7 separate regions of the Homo sapiens genome follow, and all the other regions are linked to region 2. Evidence: promoter capture Hi-C in 16 types of primary human blood cells and fetal thymus (Javierre and others, 2016). All regions are on one chromosome and are shown on one strand. The core of a region is centred on a gene start or on the middle of the fragment in contact, and the rest is flanking DNA. Distances in the headings are between cores, read along the strand shown. Region 1 overlaps CCDC15 (coiled-coil domain containing 15). Region 2 holds the start of CHEK1 (checkpoint kinase 1). Region 3 overlaps TMEM218 (transmembrane protein 218). Region 4 overlaps FAM118B (family with sequence similarity 118 member B). Region 5 has its middle 13 kb from the start of RPUSD4. Region 6 overlaps FAM118B (family with sequence similarity 118 member B). Region 7 overlaps SLC37A2 (solute carrier family 37 member 2).

Evidence for each region. The method cuts DNA at HindIII sites, captures the fragments that hold promoters and counts their contacts. A CHiCAGO score of 5 or more calls a contact.
Region 1: a contact is called between a fragment that was not itself captured here and the fragment with the promoter of CHEK1 in region 2, in 5 of 17 cell types (total CD4 T cells, non-activated CD4 T cells, fetal thymus and 2 more). The highest score is 7.8, in total CD4 T cells.
Region 3: a contact is called between a fragment that was not itself captured here and the fragment with the promoter of CHEK1 in region 2, in 1 of 17 cell types (fetal thymus). The highest score is 5.0, in fetal thymus.
Region 4: a contact is called between a fragment that was not itself captured here and the fragment with the promoter of CHEK1 in region 2, in 2 of 17 cell types (total CD4 T cells and fetal thymus). The highest score is 6.5, in total CD4 T cells.
Region 5: a fragment that was not itself captured here is called in contact with the fragment with the promoter of CHEK1 in region 2 in 14 of 17 cell types (erythroblasts, total CD4 T cells, non-activated CD4 T cells and 11 more); the score reaches 8.5 in erythroblasts.
Region 6: a fragment that was not itself captured here is called in contact with the fragment with the promoter of CHEK1 in region 2 in 2 of 17 cell types (M0 macrophages and M2 macrophages); the score reaches 5.6 in M0 macrophages.
Region 7: a fragment that was not itself captured here is called in contact with the fragment with the promoter of CHEK1 in region 2 in 1 of 17 cell types (monocytes); the score reaches 5.5 in monocytes.

What each region holds. Positions count from the first base shown.
Region 1 is chr11:124,957,448-124,960,147 of GRCh38, forward strand. It overlaps CCDC15 (coiled-coil domain containing 15), which reads left to right. Exons shown (of 16, transcript NM_025004.3): 3 at 1,668-1,817; 4 at 2,368-2,556. Among named protein-coding and RNA genes, the nearest start is that of CCDC15, 4.6 kb to the left of the region's middle. The HindIII fragment of the contact is 912 bases long and covers 812-1,723 here.
Region 2 is chr11:125,623,821-125,626,520 of GRCh38, forward strand. CHEK1 (checkpoint kinase 1) reads left to right here and starts at 1,343. Exons shown (of 13, transcript NM_001114122.3): 1 at 1,343-2,192. It overlaps LOC118567325 (a long non-coding RNA gene), which reads right to left and starts at 2,074. Exons shown (of 1, transcript NR_170378.1): 1 at 1,317-2,074. RefSeq lists an enhancer at 1,509-2,018. The HindIII fragment of the contact is 3,445 bases long and covers 1-2,700 here.
Region 3 is chr11:125,108,473-125,111,172 of GRCh38, forward strand. All of the region lies in intron 1 of TMEM218 (transmembrane protein 218), which reads right to left. Among named protein-coding and RNA genes, the nearest start is that of TMEM218, 1.8 kb to the right of the region's middle. The HindIII fragment of the contact is 2,643 bases long and covers 68-2,700 here.
Region 4 is chr11:126,258,207-126,260,906 of GRCh38, forward strand. All of the region lies in intron 7 of FAM118B (family with sequence similarity 118 member B), which reads left to right. It also overlaps a transcript of SRPRA not described here. Among named protein-coding and RNA genes, the nearest start is that of SRPRA, 9.3 kb to the right of the region's middle. The HindIII fragment of the contact is 5,808 bases long and covers 1-2,700 here.
Region 5 is chr11:126,196,862-126,199,561 of GRCh38, forward strand. No RefSeq gene overlaps it. Among named protein-coding and RNA genes, the nearest start is that of RPUSD4, 13 kb to the right of the region's middle. The HindIII fragment of the contact is 5,671 bases long and covers 1-2,700 here.
Region 6 is chr11:126,238,330-126,241,029 of GRCh38, forward strand. FAM118B (family with sequence similarity 118 member B) reads left to right here. Exons shown (of 9, transcript NM_024556.4): 4 at 2,463-2,700. It also overlaps a transcript of SRPRA not described here. Among named protein-coding and RNA genes, the nearest start is that of FAM118B, 28 kb to the left of the region's middle. The HindIII fragment of the contact is 2,269 bases long and covers 207-2,475 here.
Region 7 is chr11:125,067,555-125,070,254 of GRCh38, forward strand. All of the region lies in intron 1 of SLC37A2 (solute carrier family 37 member 2), which reads left to right. Among named protein-coding and RNA genes, the nearest start is that of SLC37A2, 5.6 kb to the left of the region's middle. The HindIII fragment of the contact is 4,165 bases long and covers 1-2,700 here.

The DNA of each region.
Region 1 (2,700 bases), core at 18-2,517, 670 kb before region 2:
TGGTAATCTCAGGGTAGTCTGAATTTTTATATGGTGCTGACTTCCTTCAGAATGAGCACTCTAAGAACAGAGGTGGAAGTTTCTTTATGACCTGGCTTGTAATCTTGTGGAGTAAAAGAGGAGCAGAGAAAATGGAGGTAAAAGAAAGAGGCCGAATGGCTTAAACTTGTCTGGGGCTTGAGTTAAGCTGGGTCAGTTGTTCAGGCTTCATTACGTATATATCTCTCCGTTGGAATTATTTTACCTAATTGTTCTTTGACACTTGTACACTCCACTAGAGTAGTTTATGGGATAGACATCTTGGAAATTTTAACTTAAATTGAAATTTGAATGCATTTGATTTTGAGAATTTAATGACAGCCTGTAAAATGATCTGAGGTACCCTTCAGAATTAGAAGTTGGAATCACTGAGTTAGAAGGAATAGGTACGAGATATGATGATGATTTTATTTAATTTGAAAATTCCTAGTGAAAGAGAGACATAGTCAAGAGAAAAGCAGTGTAGAGAGGAACATAATTGTTGGAGTCAGAAACTTCTAATTCTGCTACTAGTTAGCTATATTAAAATTACTTAATCTTTCTGAACTCCAGCTTCCTCATCTGTAACATAAGGGATAAGAATACCTACTGCCAAAGGTGGTTTTGAGGATAGAGTGCTACAAAGTAGTTAAAATACTTGTCACCTGATAGATCCATAATAATGATAAGTGCTGTTATGATGATGACTATGATTATTATTCAAAGCACTTAGAGGAGATAAATGCAGATCAAGAACTCAAATGGGATAAAGTGTTCCAGATTGTTCAGAACAAGCTTGTCCAACATGCGGCCATGGGCCACATGTGGCCCAGGATGGCTTTGAATGCGACCCAATGTAAATTAATAAATTTTCTTAATTAACACTATGAGTTTTTTTGTGATTTTTTTTTTTCTCATCAGCTACTAGTGTTAATGTATTTTATGTGACAGTTCTTCCAACATGGCCCAGGGAAGCCAAAATATTGGACACCCCTGGTTTAGAATATGTTTTGGAATTGAGCAATTATATAAATATATATTGACTACCCTTATAGTGAAGGCTCTGTACTAGATGCCGTAGGGGAAATAAAGGAGAATTGAATACATATCCTGTCCTCAAAGAGTTCATAATCTAGTAGGGGAGTCAAGAAGTACTATACTCAGTTAACATTGGTGAAATGAGAGGTGTTATAGCATAAGAGGGCTTAGAGAGAGAGTGTTGTGGAAGGTACTGGGGAGTGGGTATTAAATGGTTGTGAAAACTGAATAGGCCTTTACTAGGTGGAGATGAAAGGAAGGGCATGCCAGGTTAAAAATGGAGCATAATGCCAAATATGAAGACATTTTAACAATAGGACATATTTGGTGAGTGGTAAGTAACCTGGTGTGTCTTGACTATTTACTCCATTTTAGAAAATGTGTAACGTGTTAGGTTTTATTTGGTTCATTAAGATTTAATGAAGACATCGTTAGTTCTAATTCAATAAAAAATTTAAGATTTGATACTCATACATTCCATTTTTTTTTGTACAGAATGGAATTATTTTTTTCAGGATTGTATCCTTATCCTGACTGTTTTGTGTTTAAAACAGCCCTAATGGACAAAACTGCTAACATTTAAGTTCATTTTCTGTCTTTCATCTTTAAAGACATCAGCATATTTAATTGAAGAAGAACTAAAGGAACAGCTAAGAAAAAAACAAGAAGCTTTGAAACATTTTCAGAAACAAGTTAAATACCGAGTAAATCAACAAATTAGGTTGAGAAAAAAGCAACAGCTTCAGAAGTCTTATGAAAGAGTAAGTTCAAAAGTGAGCCTGAGTAAAGATTGAATGGAAAATATGTGTGTTATGAGATAAGCTATTAGGCAGTAACAGAATTGCTTTCCTTTGATTACATGCCTAATATAATCTAATTAACTAGTGAAGACAGTAAATTTTTTTTGTAGAGAAACCATGTTTTATTCCTGTGTTCTGACTCAATTTTTTGCTTTTACCAAGTAGTTAAAAGCAATGTCAGAATTTTGGGTTCAGACTTGAGTTTGAATTTTGGCTTTGCTACTTCTAGCTATTGACTTTTGGCTAATTACTTAACTTCACTGATTGTAGTTTCTTCATCCATAAAATAAGGATATGATACTTCTCTCATAGGATTGTGTGAGAGTTAGATGAGATAACCTAAATTATTAGCACATGGGAGGTGCCTGGTAAATGTTAGTTTCTCTGCCAGCTAAAGCCTCTCCCCTGCCCCCCACCCCAATTTAAAATCTTCTGAACTGCTTTAGAGGCATTATTTGATTGCTCTGGATTGGGGTAGAATGTTACTATCCCCCTTTCTTCTTTCGTGTAGGCACAAAAAGAAGGCTCCATAGCCATGCAGTCTTCAGCAACACACTTAACTTCCAAAAGGACAAGTGTTTTTCCAAACAATTTGAATGTTGCTATTGGAAGTTCTAGGTTACCTCCTTCCCTGATGCCTGGGGATGGAATAGAGGATGAAGAGAATCAGAACGAATTATTCCAACAACAAGCCCAGGCTGTAAGTACCTGTTCTTTTTATTTTATGTCTATGATATTTTCCCTATCCCCTAAACTATAAATATGACATCTAGGGTATGAGGTAGGGATTAAGAGTTATCACACTCAGCTTCACTTTTGATAATCATCCCCCTTTTTTTTTTTT
Region 2 (2,700 bases), core at 93-2,592:
CTGTCTTTAACTGGTATTCTGCTGGAGTCTGTATATCTTTTTTTTTTTTTTTTTCAGGCTAAAAAGACTCCATCAGACACACAGGAAATTTGCAGGTCTTCCTCTTCGTATTCTTTGTTTTCAGCACACAGTGAGGAAACAAGAGAAAATGGGATAAATGATATAAAAACTTGCTTTTATTTTTATACCAGGCCCTGTGGCTCGCTTCTGTAATCCCAGTGACTTGGGATGCTGAGGTAGGAGGATCACTTGAGCTCAGGAGTTCCAGGCTGCAGTGAGCTAAGACTGCCCAATTGCACTCCAGCCTGGGTGACAGAGCAACACACCCTGTCTCCAAAAACAACAAACTGTAAAAAGATTACATGAAGCCTAATCTGTGATGTCATGATTCAAAACTATACACATAAGCATTTTAAGAGTTTTTTCCTTGATTTTTGTTCCTGACTTTGCTTCTTTAAAAGAAATGTGTGTTTTTGTTGTTGGTTGTTTGTTTTTGAGACGGAGTCTTGCTCTGTTGCCCAGGCTGGAGTGCAGTGGCACAATCTCTGCTCACTGCAGCCTCTGCCTCCTGGGTAGCTGGGATTACAGGCACTCGCCATCGTGCCCGGCTAATTTTTGTATTTTTAGTAGAGACGGGGGTTTCACCATGTTGGCCAGGCTGGTCTTGAACTGCTGACCTCAGGTGATCCATACGCCTCAGCTTCCCAAAGTGTTGGGATTACACGTGTGAGCCACCAGGCCCCGGCCTTGAGTAACATTTTATACTTGTTTCACTTTACTATTATCATAATAGCCAGTTATGCTTAGTGTTTGTATGTGGCCCAGTCTTAAGGACTAAGAAAATATATATGTATATATATAAAATATATACATATAAAAAAATATGTTTTTTTCCTACGGAATCATGCTGTTGCCCAGGCTGGAGTGCAGTAGTGCTCACTAACCTCTAACTCCTGGACTCAAACGATTGTTCTGCTTAGGCCTCCCAAGTAGCTAGGGCTACAGGGACACACCACCAAGCCCGACTAATTCCTAAATTTTTTTATTTGTAGAGATGGGGTCTCCCTATGTTCCCCAGGCTGGTCCTGAACTCCTGGCCTCAAGCCATTCTCCTGCCTCGCCTTCCCAAAGTGCTGGAATTACAGGCAGGAGCCACTGCGCCCGGCCAGTGCTGGAGAATGTAATGGAGATGATCCTGCCTATCCCTGAGTTCCAGTCTAGTTTACTGTCAGAGAATACTTATTTCCATTTTTCCTATTTTGTTCTTGAGTCTCTTTCCTCAGAATTTACTTTTCCACTTAAATGACGTACGCAGCTTTTAAATTTGCGTTGTAAGATTTATTTTGGCTCTCCCCGCCTGTTCTTTGCACATTAAAAATGAAAAAGTTTGTAGAACTAAGCTAAGCAGATGGTCTTCCTGCAAAAAGACCGGGCTGAAGTAAAGCATTGTTTTGGAGCTGGTTCACAGAAAAAAGGCAAAACTGGTTATCCTGACTTCAAGCTCCAACATAAACTGCTCGCTTTCTCCGGGAAACTTGCCCCGCCACACACACTTGACTGCGTGGCCAGTTCTTTCGAAGCCTCTCGCTCCCAACACGGAGTTCCTCCCATTTCTTCACAGTCGGCTCTCAGCAGCTGCTGCTGGTTTCTCGGCTCCAGCACCACGAGTACCGCACTCTGAGGTTTACAAAGCACTCTGCTTCACCGACTGTGATCCTCACAGTCCTGTCCGGTGGCCTCACGCAGGTGGCGGTGCAGCCTTTCAGGCCCAGAGCGGCCAGGAGCGAAGCCCGCAGCCCCGCCTGGAAGCGCAGCGCGGTCGGTCGCGCGCCCCTGAGGCTTGGAGGCCTGGGCTTCCCCCAGCAGCGCTCGAGCACCGCCCAGTCGAGCCTCACACCGGATGCCACTTCATATTTGGGCCCAGAGCTCAATTCGCGCCGATGCGGTCCGCCGTCCTTAAATCTCTTCAGCCAGGATCTCTCCCCGACTGCAAAGCAGCCCTGGGCGGGAGCGGCAACATCTCCACGTCACCCTTTTGGAGCCGCCGACATTCAGAGGGGCAGGACACGGGAACGCGCGCTGTCTTGCTTTACGGCGCGGGTGCGCGAGTTTGCGGCAGCGTGACGCCCTCAAGTTTTGGCGGGAAAAGCGCTGCATTTGGATTCCTGCAGTGGTGGGCAAAGGACAGTCCGGTGAGGAAGGGCGGCCGGTAGAGTAGGGAAGGTTTCTAAAGAAGGAGTTCGGGGTCTAGATTAGTGAGGGAGGGCATGGTGGGAGAAAGTTAGCATTGACTAGCGCAGGGGATTGGAGAGACTCCTGCGGAGGGGCGGTTTCGGAGGGTGGAGGAATGGTACCAGGAGGTTCCCGTTGTGGGGGCGGGGGCAGGAGGGACTAACCCGCTGCTAGCTAAGAACCCCAAGGAAGAGTCCCAGCCCTTCCTTTCGCCTCTGGGGGCAGTTTGGCCCCGCCCCGGCCTTTGGGACGGGTGGGGCTGTGGATGGGGATGGGAATTGGAATTGAGCAATTGGGAGGAGGCGCTGCCGCAGGCGTTTTCTGCCCCATACCGCTCCCTATATCCTCTTCCTCTCTTCCCCAGACCCCCACCTCTCCCTCCTCCTTCCCCAGTCGTTCGCCGGAAAGCATTTGTCTCCCACCTCTTCATAACAACAATTAATTTCCTCTGGGGCCTGAGGAGGGCAG
Region 3 (2,700 bases), core at 139-2,638, 520 kb before region 2:
TAGAATACATAATGAAGTACAGTAGTCAGATGCTTGCACCTAAACTTAGAATCACCATGAATGCAAAAGCTTCAAATGCAGACTATGCAGGTGTGTTGTTCTGGCAACTCAAATACCACGAGCTGTGCTGCCTTCAGTTATGTGATTTGCTAGAGTGATGAACAACTCTTGTTAAAGTTCCAAACCACAAATAAGTATAATTTTCCTCTGATTTACATTAGAGTTGCATTCCTGGAAATTTTACTATATTAAACTGTGCCAAAAAATACATTATGTTTATACAAAAACCGGAGTTAGGCTCTACACTCAGATAATTATAAATGAGTATCCTGTGGGATACTCAAAATTTGCACAGGATGCAGGACAATTCTTCGTTGTGAGGACTGTCCCATACATTACAGAACATCCAGTATCCGCAGTCCTGATCTGTAAACCCCAGTAGTGCCTCCAATCAAAGAATAACAAAATACATCTTCACAAATTCCAAAACACCCTAAAACGGGCAGCAACATCTTCTTGGGGAACCACTGTTCTAGACACAGTCTTGCATAAAGAGACATGTACAAGGTGTTTATTGCAGCTTTGTTTACAATAGCAAAACATCAGGAAAAAACCTAAATGTCCATCAATCAGGGAACAGATACAATATTATATATTCATAATGAATACTTAAAATGAATGAAATTGATCTATATGTATTGATGTGAATATATCTCAAAAACAATGTTGAGTGACAAAAACAAGTTGCAAAATGGAACCCACAGTATGATACTACTTGTATTTTTAAAATTAAATACAATCTAAACAGTAATATATATTGTTTCTGACGAACGTATATACAGCAAAAGTATAAAAACATGGGCATAAACAATACATGACAATTTCAAAAGACTATTTGCCTCTGCAGAGGGAGGAAGGAAAGGGAATGGGGTTAGGAGTGGAAATAAAAGGGATCTGAACTAAATCTGTGATGTTTTATTTCTTTAAAATAAAAAACTTGAGCTGGTGTGCCAAAATGTTAATATTTATTAATCTGATTGGTGGAACATAGATATTATACTACCCAATGTACTATTTTCTGTTTTTAAATTTTTCGTGATAATTTTTAATTTTTAAAAAGGTAATGGGCAGCAGGATGCATATGAATTGGGTGACCAGTTAGGAAACTATTGCAATTCTCCAGATAAGAGATGATGAGGGTCTGACCTCCAGTCTTAGCTGTGTCAAGGGAGAAGGTGTTAGAAATGACACAAGTTTCTAGCTTAGTTGACTGAGCTGATGGTACTGCTCTTAAGAAAACAACTATTTAAATTTAATTTGTGCTATTCTGGATATTACACAAATAACCCAGAAGACTTGGACCAACTCTAACAGTTAGAATAGAGGGCAAATGGTAGTTGAAGCTGGCTGGCGCCATTAGAAATGTTGCCCTTCAATCCCCCTTAGTAGCTTAAGAGTTCGTGAGACATTGGATTTATATATGGTATGGCTTTAAAGTAATAAGATAAATATTCCCAAGCTCTTTTAAGAATGGAGCTCATAATTTTATAAGCAAACTATACATTTTCTTACTAAGCATAGAAAAGAAGGGCTGGGTATAGTATAGAGTGCTGCTATAGAGGAAGAGAGAACATCTAGTCATTTTTATCTTATTTAAATGTGAGAATAATATCTGTGATAATTTCCCATATTAGAATAGCTAAATTATTGTTATTGAGTACAATACAATAAAATATAAAAACGGGTTCATGCCATCATTAAACCTTCTTTGAGAAGTGATGGCTTGGCCAACCCGATTTCAAGGGTAAGTCCATTTACTTAATATCTGTGGCATTTAAAGCAGGTAGACTGGAGTGAAAAAAAATAATTTAAATTTGAACAGTTCAGCAGCTGACAACAAAAGCAACTACAGGGCTAATGTTTTCCTTCTGTGCTCAATGCTGTGAGGTTTTTCTCTGAGAGAGTTTGTTCAAAACCTTTTAGATGTGTGTGTTCATTTAATGGTTGTTTCTACATACCCTTTCATCCAGCTGTCAGAGAAAATAGGAATAAATGGACTGATCCCTGCACAGGTAACCTAATGGATTAAAAATACGGTACTCATCACCAGGTTGATCATCATGAGCGAGAATACTAACTGCCATTATAAGATGACTTATAAGATGACTTACTATCTAAGACAAATGTGGATTCCTCAGAGGGTAATGTGGCCTAAGTGCTGCTGCTGGAGGGAGATATCTCACCCATCCCCCGATTTTCACACTGACTCAAGCCCTTGAAAGCAACAGAAAACAGTGGGTTACAAGGAGTGAAGTGCTCCTCTGGAAGAGTCCTTTTCACTTTGCTTTATAGCTGTTTTCCAAACCTTCAAAAATAACGGGGGGGGGGGGTTACTTTCACACTTTTATGTTTCTACTTTAAACACTTCACTATCTTTTGAATTTTAAAATATTAGAATAACGCCTCTACCTTTGTAATTAGATAAAATGCAAGCCTGGGGAAAAAATCAGTTGCCAAGCTCCCAAAATGCCACCGATGTAGCATCTGCTCTTAACACGTTGATAGAAAAAGGAGGATCAGTAAACCTAGGTCTCTTCCTTGCATCCCTCTCCTGGACGGTGTTGTGGGTTGGAAGCGCTGCAGAGCCTCGGTCTATCCGCTCTCTGGATCTCACAGCACTGCAGCCTGGGAACACCCCAC
Region 4 (2,700 bases), core at 181-2,680, 630 kb after region 2:
GCAACATAGTGAGAACCTGTCTCTGCAAAAAATTAGCCAGGTGTGGTGGCACACACCTGTAGTCCAGCTGCTTGGGAGGTTGAGGCAGGAGGATCACTTGAGCCCAGGAGTTGGAGTCTGCAGTGAGCTATGATTGCATCACTGCCCTACAGTCTGAGCAATAAAGCAAGACGCTGTTTCTAAAATAAATAACATACAGGTAATTTAATAAACATAAAGCAGTTTTCCTAAATCAAATCATCCCCAGATTTCTTAACTGAATCAGATGGCTTCAAGTAGAATTCTCCTGTAATGAAAAATTACACAGCTTCTTCCATGGCTATGCTTTGATGGAACCAGACTTTTAAAAGCCATCACCACATGAACAAGTCTCATTTGTGAAAACTATTTACTATTCTTTGTTGGAAATGAGTTTTTCTGGTGTCCTGCAGTGTTCTAGACTCTCCTGCTGTTGTTTGCCCACACTTGAGACTTTGAGAAGGCTTTTCTGTTGCACATGTTGTTTTCATTAACAAGACATACATATCCAAGTTCTACATATTTCTTTTGATCTATATGCTGAGGAAAGATGCTAAAGTTTAAAACAGCAAAATCCGTCTGCATAACTGTTTCTGTTGCACTAAATCTTAGCAAAAAATAAATATGTCTTTAGACTGTTGCATTACATAACAAAGAAGCAGTAAGGTTCCTTAGTGCACTAAGATTGCTCTAAGGAACCTTAACTGCTATTGTGGAATGGCACAAATTCTTTTATTAGCTGTGTAGGCTTCCTACCAGAGTAGCTTTCCCCGAAGTTACCCATCATTAAGGTGTTCTGTATCTTTAAACAAAATCAAGGATTTTCAGTATGGCCAGAGTGCTTTATGGGAATGGTCAGCTGAGTTTGTCATGTGAAATGTAGTAGAGCAGTTTCAGGTTAAAACATCATTTCATTTTGAAACGAGTCAACCTTATCTTTCACCCTTGCATAATGTTTTGAGTCTCTGTAGATATAGACTAATGAGAGGTTACAGGTCTTTTGCTGTTATTTTGTTTTTTAACACTGAACCTTTGCTATGTGCCTGGCATTGTGCTGTATACTCACTTTTGCATAGTGGAAATTAATTGTCTTCAAAGGATTCTATAGTATGTAGTTACACATATTTTGGAAAAATCAAGCAGTGGGAAAAAGAAAAATAATTCTTATAATCCATTACCATACAAGCAGTCGTTGTGGTACTTTTTTTTTTTTTTTTTTTGAGATGGAGTCTCGCTCTGACGCCAGGCTGGAGTGCAGTGGCACAATCTCGGCTCACTGCAACCCCCGCCTCCTGGGTTCAAGTGATTCTCCTGCCTCAGCCTCCTGAGTGGCTGGAACTATAGGCGCCCACCACCATGCCCGGCTAATTTTTTGTATTTTTAGTAGAGATGGGGTTTCACCATGTTGGCCAGGATGGTCTCGGTCTCCTGACCTCATGATCCACCCGCCCTGGCCTCCCAAAGTGCTGGGATTACAGGCGTGAGCCACCATGCCCGGGCCTATTTATTGATTTGAGATGGAGTTTCTCTCTGTCACCCAGGCTAGAGTGCAGTGGCGCAATCTCAGCTCACTGCAAGCTCTGCCTCCTGGGTTCACGCCATTCTCCTGCCTCAGTCTCCCGAGTAGCTGGGACTAAAGGCGCCCGCCACCACACCCGGCTAATTTTTTGTATTTTTAGTAGATACAGCGTTTCACTGTGTTAGCCAGGATGGTCTCGATCTCCTGACCTCGTGATCCACCCACCTCAGCCTCCCAAAGTGCTGGGATTACAGGCGTGAGCCACTGTGCCAGCTTTATTTTTATTTTATTATTATTACTATTTTTGATACAGGGTCTTGCTTTTTCACCCAGGCTGCAGTACAATGGCACAGTCATGGCTCACCACAGCCTTGACCTCCCCGGGCTCAGGCGATCCTCCCACCTCAGCCTCCCGAGTAGCTGAGACTAAAGGCACATACCACAATGCCCAGCTAATTTTTGTATTTTTTGTAGAGATGGGGTTTCGCCATGTTGCCCAGGCTGTTCTCAGTCTCCTAAGTGCAAGCAATCCTCCCACCTCAGCTTCCCAAAGTTCTGGGATTATAGGTGTGAGCCACAGCACCTGGCCTTGGCACATTTCTGATGAAGTTTTCCCTGTGCTTTTTTTCATAGTTGTAAACAAAATATAGTGATTTTTTTTTTTTTTTGGTCCTTTGAAAATTCAGTAGTGGATTGTACATTTTCCCACATCCCTATCTTCATAACCACTATTTTAATTGACTTTTATATTCCAGTAGGGGTGTTACAGTTTACCTAATTATTCCTGTTAGGCAACGTCTGATATTTTTTTTGCCAGTTTTTTGTAAGTCATGTTGTGAAAATAACATCTGTATCTCTTCAGTTTTTCCAGTAATTTCCTTGATGAGTTCTCACTGTAATCAGGTCAAAGATCAGGAACATTTCAGTAATTTATAAATACTGCTAAATTGTTTTCTACGAGGGTAATATCAATTTGTATATTTGAGTACCATGCCTGTTTATACTGTAATTGACCATATTTCTAATGACTATTTTCTTCCATGTGTTCAGCTTTTTACTTTTTCTGAACTATTATCTATGCCAAGTGTTATCCAGTAGAATTTCCTGCAGTCATAAAAATACTGTATAATCTTCACTGTCTAGTATCATAGTTAGGAGCCACA
Region 5 (2,700 bases), core at 197-2,696, 570 kb after region 2:
GGATGGCAGCAGATGACAGTGTTCCACAGCAGGTGCCAGGAGGGAAGTGAACAGAAATATCTCAAGGCTTCTTGCCTGAAAGGATCCTAAGGCCACAACCAACAGGGGCATCTATGCAGACAGCCACCTAGGCTGGTCACTCGCTGGGGGACAGCAAGATGAAGGGATCCCTAAGAGAGGACATCAAGAGACGCCTAAGGGAGTGGGGGATGGAGAGGAAAACTCAGAGTTCTATAATAATTTGCCTTGCTTTCGTCCTTGGTTCCTGGGAGAGAGAACCTAAATCCTTGGAATTTCCCAAGTGATGTTAACATTTTTTGTTATTCATGATGAGCCCTAATAGTTTACGCTATTAAATGTGAGGACTCACGGTGGGGCTTTAGTTTCAGGATGGGTAGTTTCAGGCTGGCCATGCAAAAAGACCGACCATGTGATTAGAGGGTTGGCACTTTGAACCCAGCAGAACCGAGTTCAACAATGTAGCCAATTGTTCAACCACGACAACATAATGAAACCCCAATAAAAACTCTGGACACCAGGGCTTGGGTGACATTCCTGGCTGGTGATGCACATCCATGTGTTGGGAGGGTGACACGGTGGGCAGAGGACACGGTAGCTTCATGCTGGAGACTCTCCCAGACCTTGCCCATGCATCTCTTCTTTTAGCTGGTCCTGATTCATATCATTTTATTGCTACAGCAAAACCATAATAGTAAGCATAGCTAGTGCTTTGCTGAGTTCTGGGAGTCATTCTAGTGAATGATCAAACCTGAGGGGTTTGTGAACACTCTTGAATTCATAGCTAGTTGGTCAGAAGTACAGGTGGCTGGAAAACCCCAGAGCTTGCAGCTGGTGTCTGAAGTGAGGCAAGTCCTGTGGAATGTGCCATTAACTTGTGACATCTGGCCTAACGCTGGGTAGCTGGTGTTTGAATTACATTGCCCTGAGCCAGCAGATTTTGCTCCGCACTGGGAGAAGCTGTCTGCACCCACATGGCATGCTTTGCACAAGCACAAGCAGGAGGCCATGTTTTTGTATATCCTACCAGGCACTCTGGCTAAAAGCAGTCCAGAGAGCCAAGGAGAGCAGACCTAGAAAACATGGTGGGAGGCTGCTCTATTTGCCTGTCTTGTTTAAAACAGGTACCCCCTCCCACACTGCTCTATCCCCAGGAACCTGGGGATGGTCTCAACACCCCGTTGTGAGTTTGGTTTCTGGTGGGAACTAGCAGGTTGCCTATGATCCTATTTCTAACCCACTATGCCCTTCCACCTCCCAGACCTATCCCATCATAGCTGAAGGGTGGGGACGGTGAAATTGGTGCTCAGGAGATATTAGAATTAAAGAGGGAAGTGCATTTTAAGAGAAGGGTTTTAGATGGAACTGGCAAAGAATTAGTGGCTAATTGGATTTGGGGACTGGTGCGAGGGAGGAGTTAAGGGTGATTCCCAGGTCTCTGGTGATGCCATCTAAACTAAGGCAGGTAAGAGGACAGGAGCAACAGGCCCGGAGAGGGAGCTCCCAAGGGGAGACGATCACAGGCAGATGGATGTGAAGATAAGGAGCTCAAGGGGGAGATCAAGGTCAGAGACAGACTAGCGAGTCGTCAGCACACAGGTAGAGGCTTCCCAAGTTGGCCCAGCTCTCCCTCTGGGAGAGGGGCAGGATGCCAAGATGGAGCTCTGGGGGGCACCATGCTGGGGCCCTTCAAGGAGCCTGGAAGGAGGTCAGACAAGGAGATGCAGGAGGAGTTCATGGAATCAAAGCGAGTGAGGAGCTCAGAGTGGGCAATTCGGTTATCAAATGCAAAGACGTGTGATACGAGGATTGAGAAAGTGCTCTGTGGGCTTATTAGGTTGGGCATGCCTAGCACAGAAAAAAACCAGCTACCCAAAAGCTGCCTCCTGGAGCAGAAGAGCCAGTGCTGCCACCAGAAGGGGCACTGGGAGAGCCGGCCTCCCCCCTCTGCTGAGCACAAGCACCTCCCAGAGCTCACAGCAAACAAAATCCCTACGTGGGCAAGGAGCTGCTGCTTTTCATGGCAAGCCTTTAGTTCTTGATTTTTCATTTTGATTTTTTCTTATTCTTTTTTTAACCAGAGTCATTTGAGCAGAATAGTTCTTGATTTTTTAAATCATGTGCACATAGAACTTTGATAAAAATAGAAATTTAAGAAGCCCATTTTCTTATACTAATTACTGTATATGACTTAACACTAAATCATATCTTTTAGCTGGCTCTAATCAGTATTTCAAAATAGATGCAGTTCATTTTAGGCACATTCCAACCTCCTTTGCTGTGTAACCCATTTCTCAGGCCACACTAACCTGGGGTAAAATTCCTCTTATATTATTGTCAGTAATTAAAGATAGCCACTGGGCCAGGCACGGCGGCTCATGCCTGTAATCCCAGCACTTTAGGAGGCTGAGGCAGGTGGATCACCTGAGGTTGTGAGTTTGAGACCAGCCTGACCAACATGGAGAAACCCCATCTCTACTAAAAATACAAAATTAGCCGGGCATGGTGGCACATGCCTGTAATCCCAGCTACTCGGGAGGCTGAGGCAGGAGAATCGCTTAAACTCGGGAGGCAGAGGTTGTGGGGAGTGGAGATCACGCCATTGCACTCCAGCCTGGGCAACAAGAGTGAAATTCTGTCTCAAAAAAAAAAAAAAAAAAAAAAAAAAGATAGCCACTGTAC
Region 6 (2,700 bases), core at 91-2,590, 610 kb after region 2:
TCAAAAAAAAAAGCCAGTTGGAGAATCTGTGTGTACATAAGGGGCTTGGTCCCAGACTCTATGTAGAGTTAAGGAATTCCCACCTGTCAGAATCTGCAGGTTTTTCATCTCATACTGGCCATTTTCCTGAAAGAGGAATCGTCCTCATTTCCTAACTGGATGGGGGATAGGGGTGCAGGTACAGAGTTGATTCCTAGAGTCTGAAAAGCTTCCTCTGGGGAAAGAGAGTTGGGGGAAATCTTGTATTTTATATACAGACTTTTACTTAATCCCCACCCTCAGCTGTGTGCAGTGTTCTCAGATATAGTCCTCTGGTCAACCTCTGCAGAAGGGAAACCTCTAGCCTGCTGAAAGTTGTAACTGTTAAAGGCTTGTAACTGATTCTCCTATTTTAGCCCCACCAGCCCCTCTACCTTTAGATGTACATGAACATTCCCAAAATTCTACCAAGGGAATCGGCCTTTGCATTACAATTGGTAAAATGTTGTTGCCCTTTGACCTCTGTTGTCTGCTGTCATCTTTACCTAGCCTACTTTTTAGGTATATATACCCGCTAAAAAAAAAAAGTAACTATTATTTGGTGGTTTACAAAGAACCAGTAATAAAACACAATTGTTAAATGTTTTATTTTTAAGTGGAAGTCTTTTTTTTTTTTTTTTTCGAGACAAGGTCTTGTTCTGTCACCCAGGCTGGAGTGCAGTGGCACAAACACAGCTCACTGCAACCTCAGCCTCCTGGGCTCACGTGATCCTCCCGTGAACTTAGCCTCCCAGGTAGCTGGGACTACAGACGTGCCTAATTTTCTTTTTCGTTCTTTCTTTGTTTGGCAGAGATGGGGTCTCACTAAGTTGCCTAGGCTTGTCTCAAACTCCTGGGCTCAAGCTCAGCCTCCTAAAGTGCTGAGATTACAGGCATGAACCACTGCACTTAGCCAAATTGGAAGTCTTAATTAGGAAGAATTATAGTTCAAATCTGTATGTTATATAAAAAAATACAGTACAACAGTATAAAATGAAAAGTAAAAAGTCCTTATTCTCTGCTATCCCCATTTAACCACTATTTATACATCTTGTGAATCCTAGAAATTTTCTATGTGTGTGTATATTTGTTTATGTGGATTTGTGTATGCTTCACTATCTTGATTGCTCTGAACTGAAACTCATTTTTCATCATTTGCTTCTAACATCTATTATTAATGTCTTTTCTAGTAGACTGATCTTTCAAGATCAGGGACTCCATTTTGTTCATGGATACATGACTCCCGTAGTGTCTGGTACATACAGGTTTTCCTTTCCTGCCTCAGCCTCCCTAGTAGCTGGGACTACAGGTGTGCGCCACCAGACCCAGCTAATTTTTGTATTTTTAGTAGACACAGAGTTTCACCATGTTGGCCAGGCTGGTCTTGAACTCCTGACCTCAAGTAATCAGCCCACCTTGGCCCCCCAAAGTGCTGGGATTACAGGCGTGAGCCACTGCTCCTGGCCTCGGTTTTTCATATTTGTTGAATGACTGAATGCAGAAGCTCGGGTTAGGGAAAGCAGTTTTAGAGGCTGTGTCCCCAAAACCAGGTTTCCCAAGGCTTGAAAGTGCTATTCCTTTCTTGAGTTATGCCAAAATGCTGATCCTCTCCATTTTATTATTTAGACAAAAAGGTTGGGGAGAAGCCATTTTCAGGGGAGGGGAACATGCCATCAGCAAAAATTAATGTGAAGGAACATATTTCAAGCAGGGATAGTCTCCAGAATGAAAGAGAGGGGAACAAAAACAAAAATTAGCACCCATGCTGTCTCACATATGGGCCTCAGAACAGAGAAGTCTGTCTCTGCTTATCATGGTAAGAAAGGAATGTTTTTCACTTTTTGTCATGTCCTTTGATTAGTTAATGTCTTTATTTAGGTATGTAGGGCCCCTGTGTTTTCAGAATTCTATTGGCCACTTTTTTTTTCTTTTTTTTTTTTGCCTGAGGTTAATGTTTACAAAATTCAGAATTAAATTTTGTATTGCCTTTCCCCTAGTGTTTTACATTTCTCAATAATAGGAACTTAATTTGTCCTGGGGTTCTTTTCTCTTTTTCTAGAGTACAAATCAAACGTCTTCTTTTGAAATTTAATACTGGTTTAAAATATAATTTAGTTGGCAGAAGTCAGCTGAGCTATAGTCTATTTGGATCTTTTCCTAATATTAGTGGAATTTCTTAGGTTGAGAGGACTAGGAAGGGAAAACTGATTTTAAGATTGGTTTTGGGATTCCTGAAATAGGTTTATGACTTGTTTTTCAGCAAGCACTGACACAATATTCTGGTTGTTTTCTTTAAACTGCTTTGGAAAGGTGTCAAAAACTGCTGTTCATCTTCTTTGCAACTATAAAAGTTAGCTAAAAACTGTAACCTGAGTCAGACAGTCTTTCTGTGTGCCTCATATCTATTGGATATTCCAATCCTCTCATTTGTTTTGCTTTTATAGGAAGCTGCTTCCAAGCTTAAAAACTAAGAAGCCTCGAGAACTTGTGCTAGTGATTGGAACAGGCATTAGTGCTGCAGTTGCGCCCCAAGTTCCAGCCCTCAAATCCTGGAAGGGGTTAATTCAGGCCTTACTGGATGCTGCCATTGATTTTGATCTTTTAGAAGATGAGGAGAGCAAAAAGTTTCAGAAATGTCTCCATGAAGACAAGAACCTGGTCCATGTTGCCCATGACCTTATC
Region 7 (2,700 bases), core at 107-2,606, 560 kb before region 2:
TAACATATTAAATAAATCTAATGATTTCTAGCACCTCTCTTTTTAAAAGATGAAAGAACAAATCTTTGTGGTTTTCCAGGAGCCCTTCCTCTTTTTAAATTAAATATTCACAAACTTATCAAGATTTTGCCAACTTTGGCAAAATTTTAACACATTTAATTGCTTATTTTTAGACTTATTGTTTGATGTACTATAATCCAAGACAAATCAAATTTCCTTTCTACAAACCTAAAATGTATCCATTCAGATTTGACCTTCCCTGTTCCCTTTCTTATTCTGGAACAACCAGTCATTTTTCTTATGTGTAATATTTTTCCTTTTAATAAACAAAAACAGGTTTCAATACCATGTATACAAAGTCATACCTCTCTGCCACGATTGTTCCTAGTAGAGTCTCATTCATGTATATTAGTTATATCTTTTAACCAAAGTAACTAACATTTCAGAGAGAATGGGGAGTGGGGAGGGTGGATCATTATAAACCATCTAGAACACATTGGCATTCTAGAAGGGCTCAGTAATACGCATAACATGACTTTCTCCAGCCTCCAACACTCTTCACTTTCACACTTCTCAAGGTGTGAATTCAGCTACGGTATTCCCCAACATCTCTGGGATTTATGACAGACCTTGGTTGAAATCCTTTCACCACTGTGAGCCTTGACTTTGCTGAGCCCCAGTTTCCTCATCAATAAAAGTCAGATGGGTTCTTGAGGATAAATGCGATAATATAAGGAAACATTCTTGACGTCTTGTGGCTGCTGGAGGGTACTCAACAGGTATCCTTTTACTTCCTTCCAGATAAGTTTAGATTTGGATTCCTATCAAACACTAAATGTCACGTAGTTCTTCTGTAAGTACATTATTATGCTGAGCTCTGAGGCCTGCAAAGACAATCAAGACAGGGTTCTACCTTCTTGGAACTAAGAATCAAGCTGGAGAGGGGCTGTGTACACACAGTCAGCAATTTTAGAAGGCCCTGCTCTACTTATTGAGTGCCAAAGGATGGCATTTCCTATGTGCCATGTCATTCAGAGGACCAGCGAGGGGAATGCAGAAGTCGGTTGGGGAGATTTTGAAGAAAACTGACTTGCTGAGCACTTAACACATAAAAGGTTAGAGATTATATGTATACATTGCCTGGTATACAGGAAGCATGGAATACATGGCGGCTTTTACTATCATTATTAATGATGGTGATGTTATTATTACAGATACATATTAACCCAATTCACCTTTCTTGTGCTAAACAAAATACAGGCCAGGGTGCAGACAAATAAAAATAAAGACTTATAGTCTGAAAATGAGAAATCAAATCTCTGTCACATTTAACTGCTTTCACATGTCCCCAAGGAGGGCATTTAAGAAGTGAAGAAGACAGAATAGGAAGCTGAAAGTGGACTGGCCCTGGGCCTTGGACTCCTCCTCTGTAAAATGAGGATAATAATAATACCTGTATCACACGAGTGTTTTGAGGTTTAAATGAGGTACTACGTGTAAGGTACTTAGGTCAGTGCCAGGCTGATATGAAACACTGAGTAAACACTAATGATTGACTATATTCTATTTGTTTTTCCTACTACTTTGTGCCAGGCATTGTTTATTTGTAATTTTTGTGGAACTGCAAGGTGAATGTTAGCTTCCCTGTGGAACATATGAGTGTAATGAGGCACAGAGCAGTTATGTAAGCCTGTCCAGCACCACACAGCTGATAAATGACTGAGCTGGAGTTGGAATCAAGATTAGTCTGACTCGTAAGCCCATGGTCTTTCCGCTGCCTTCCTAATGATAGTGTTGGGTGGGGAAAAGATTACATGGCCATTTGGCCTTGGACAAATTACTTAACATCTCCCAGGCTCAATTTCCTTATCTATGAAATGGAAAAAATGATGTACCTATATCACGGGGTTTTGGTGAAATTAAATGAGAAGCTGCTTAAAGCACTTAGCCCAGTGTCTAGCGTAGTTGGTATTGGCTAGGTGCTTATAAATTTCTGTGGAGGGAGAGAATCATCTCCATTAGGAGAAGAAGGAAGTCTTTGACTTGGATCTGGAGGTGTTCTGAGCAGAGGTCACAGAGCCAGCAAAGGCATGCAAGTGGAGACATGGCCTGTCCCCTGTCTCTGAAGTAGTAACATGTAGCTCCAGCTGGTAGGAACAAAAGGTGCCCCTGGACAGGAGGCTGGGAGTCATGTGGCGCCAGGTGTGTGGAGACAGCTGCAGACATCCAGGCAAGAGTCAGAGATGGCGGAGTTTCTGTCCAGGAAGATGTTGCTCTCCTCCTCCTGTTAGGCCTTCCTCGTCAGGATGACAATGAATGGCTTGTCCATGGCGTTTCAGAGCCACAGAGCACCTGGAGGTTCCCCAGCCTGGAGCCTGGCTGGTTCCTGCCTTTTGTACCAGTGTCTGTGTGGGTGCGTCTGGGGGCAGCTGGCAGCATGGGAGATGACTGTGGCTGGTGCTTATGGGGCTGGGCCCATTTCCTGGGGCCCTCTGAGGGGGATGGCCCAGAACGTGCAGAAGAAGAGCCTGTGGGAGGAAATACCAGGGTGACCACAGCTGGATGAGCAGGAATGGGCAGGAGGGTGAATTGGGCAGGCAGGAAGAGCAGGAGCTGTGAGCTCCTGTGGTGCCATTTTTCCCACACCTCGATCTTCCCCTGTGAGCTGCAAAAGGCCACAGCTGAGCTAGAATGGATGGT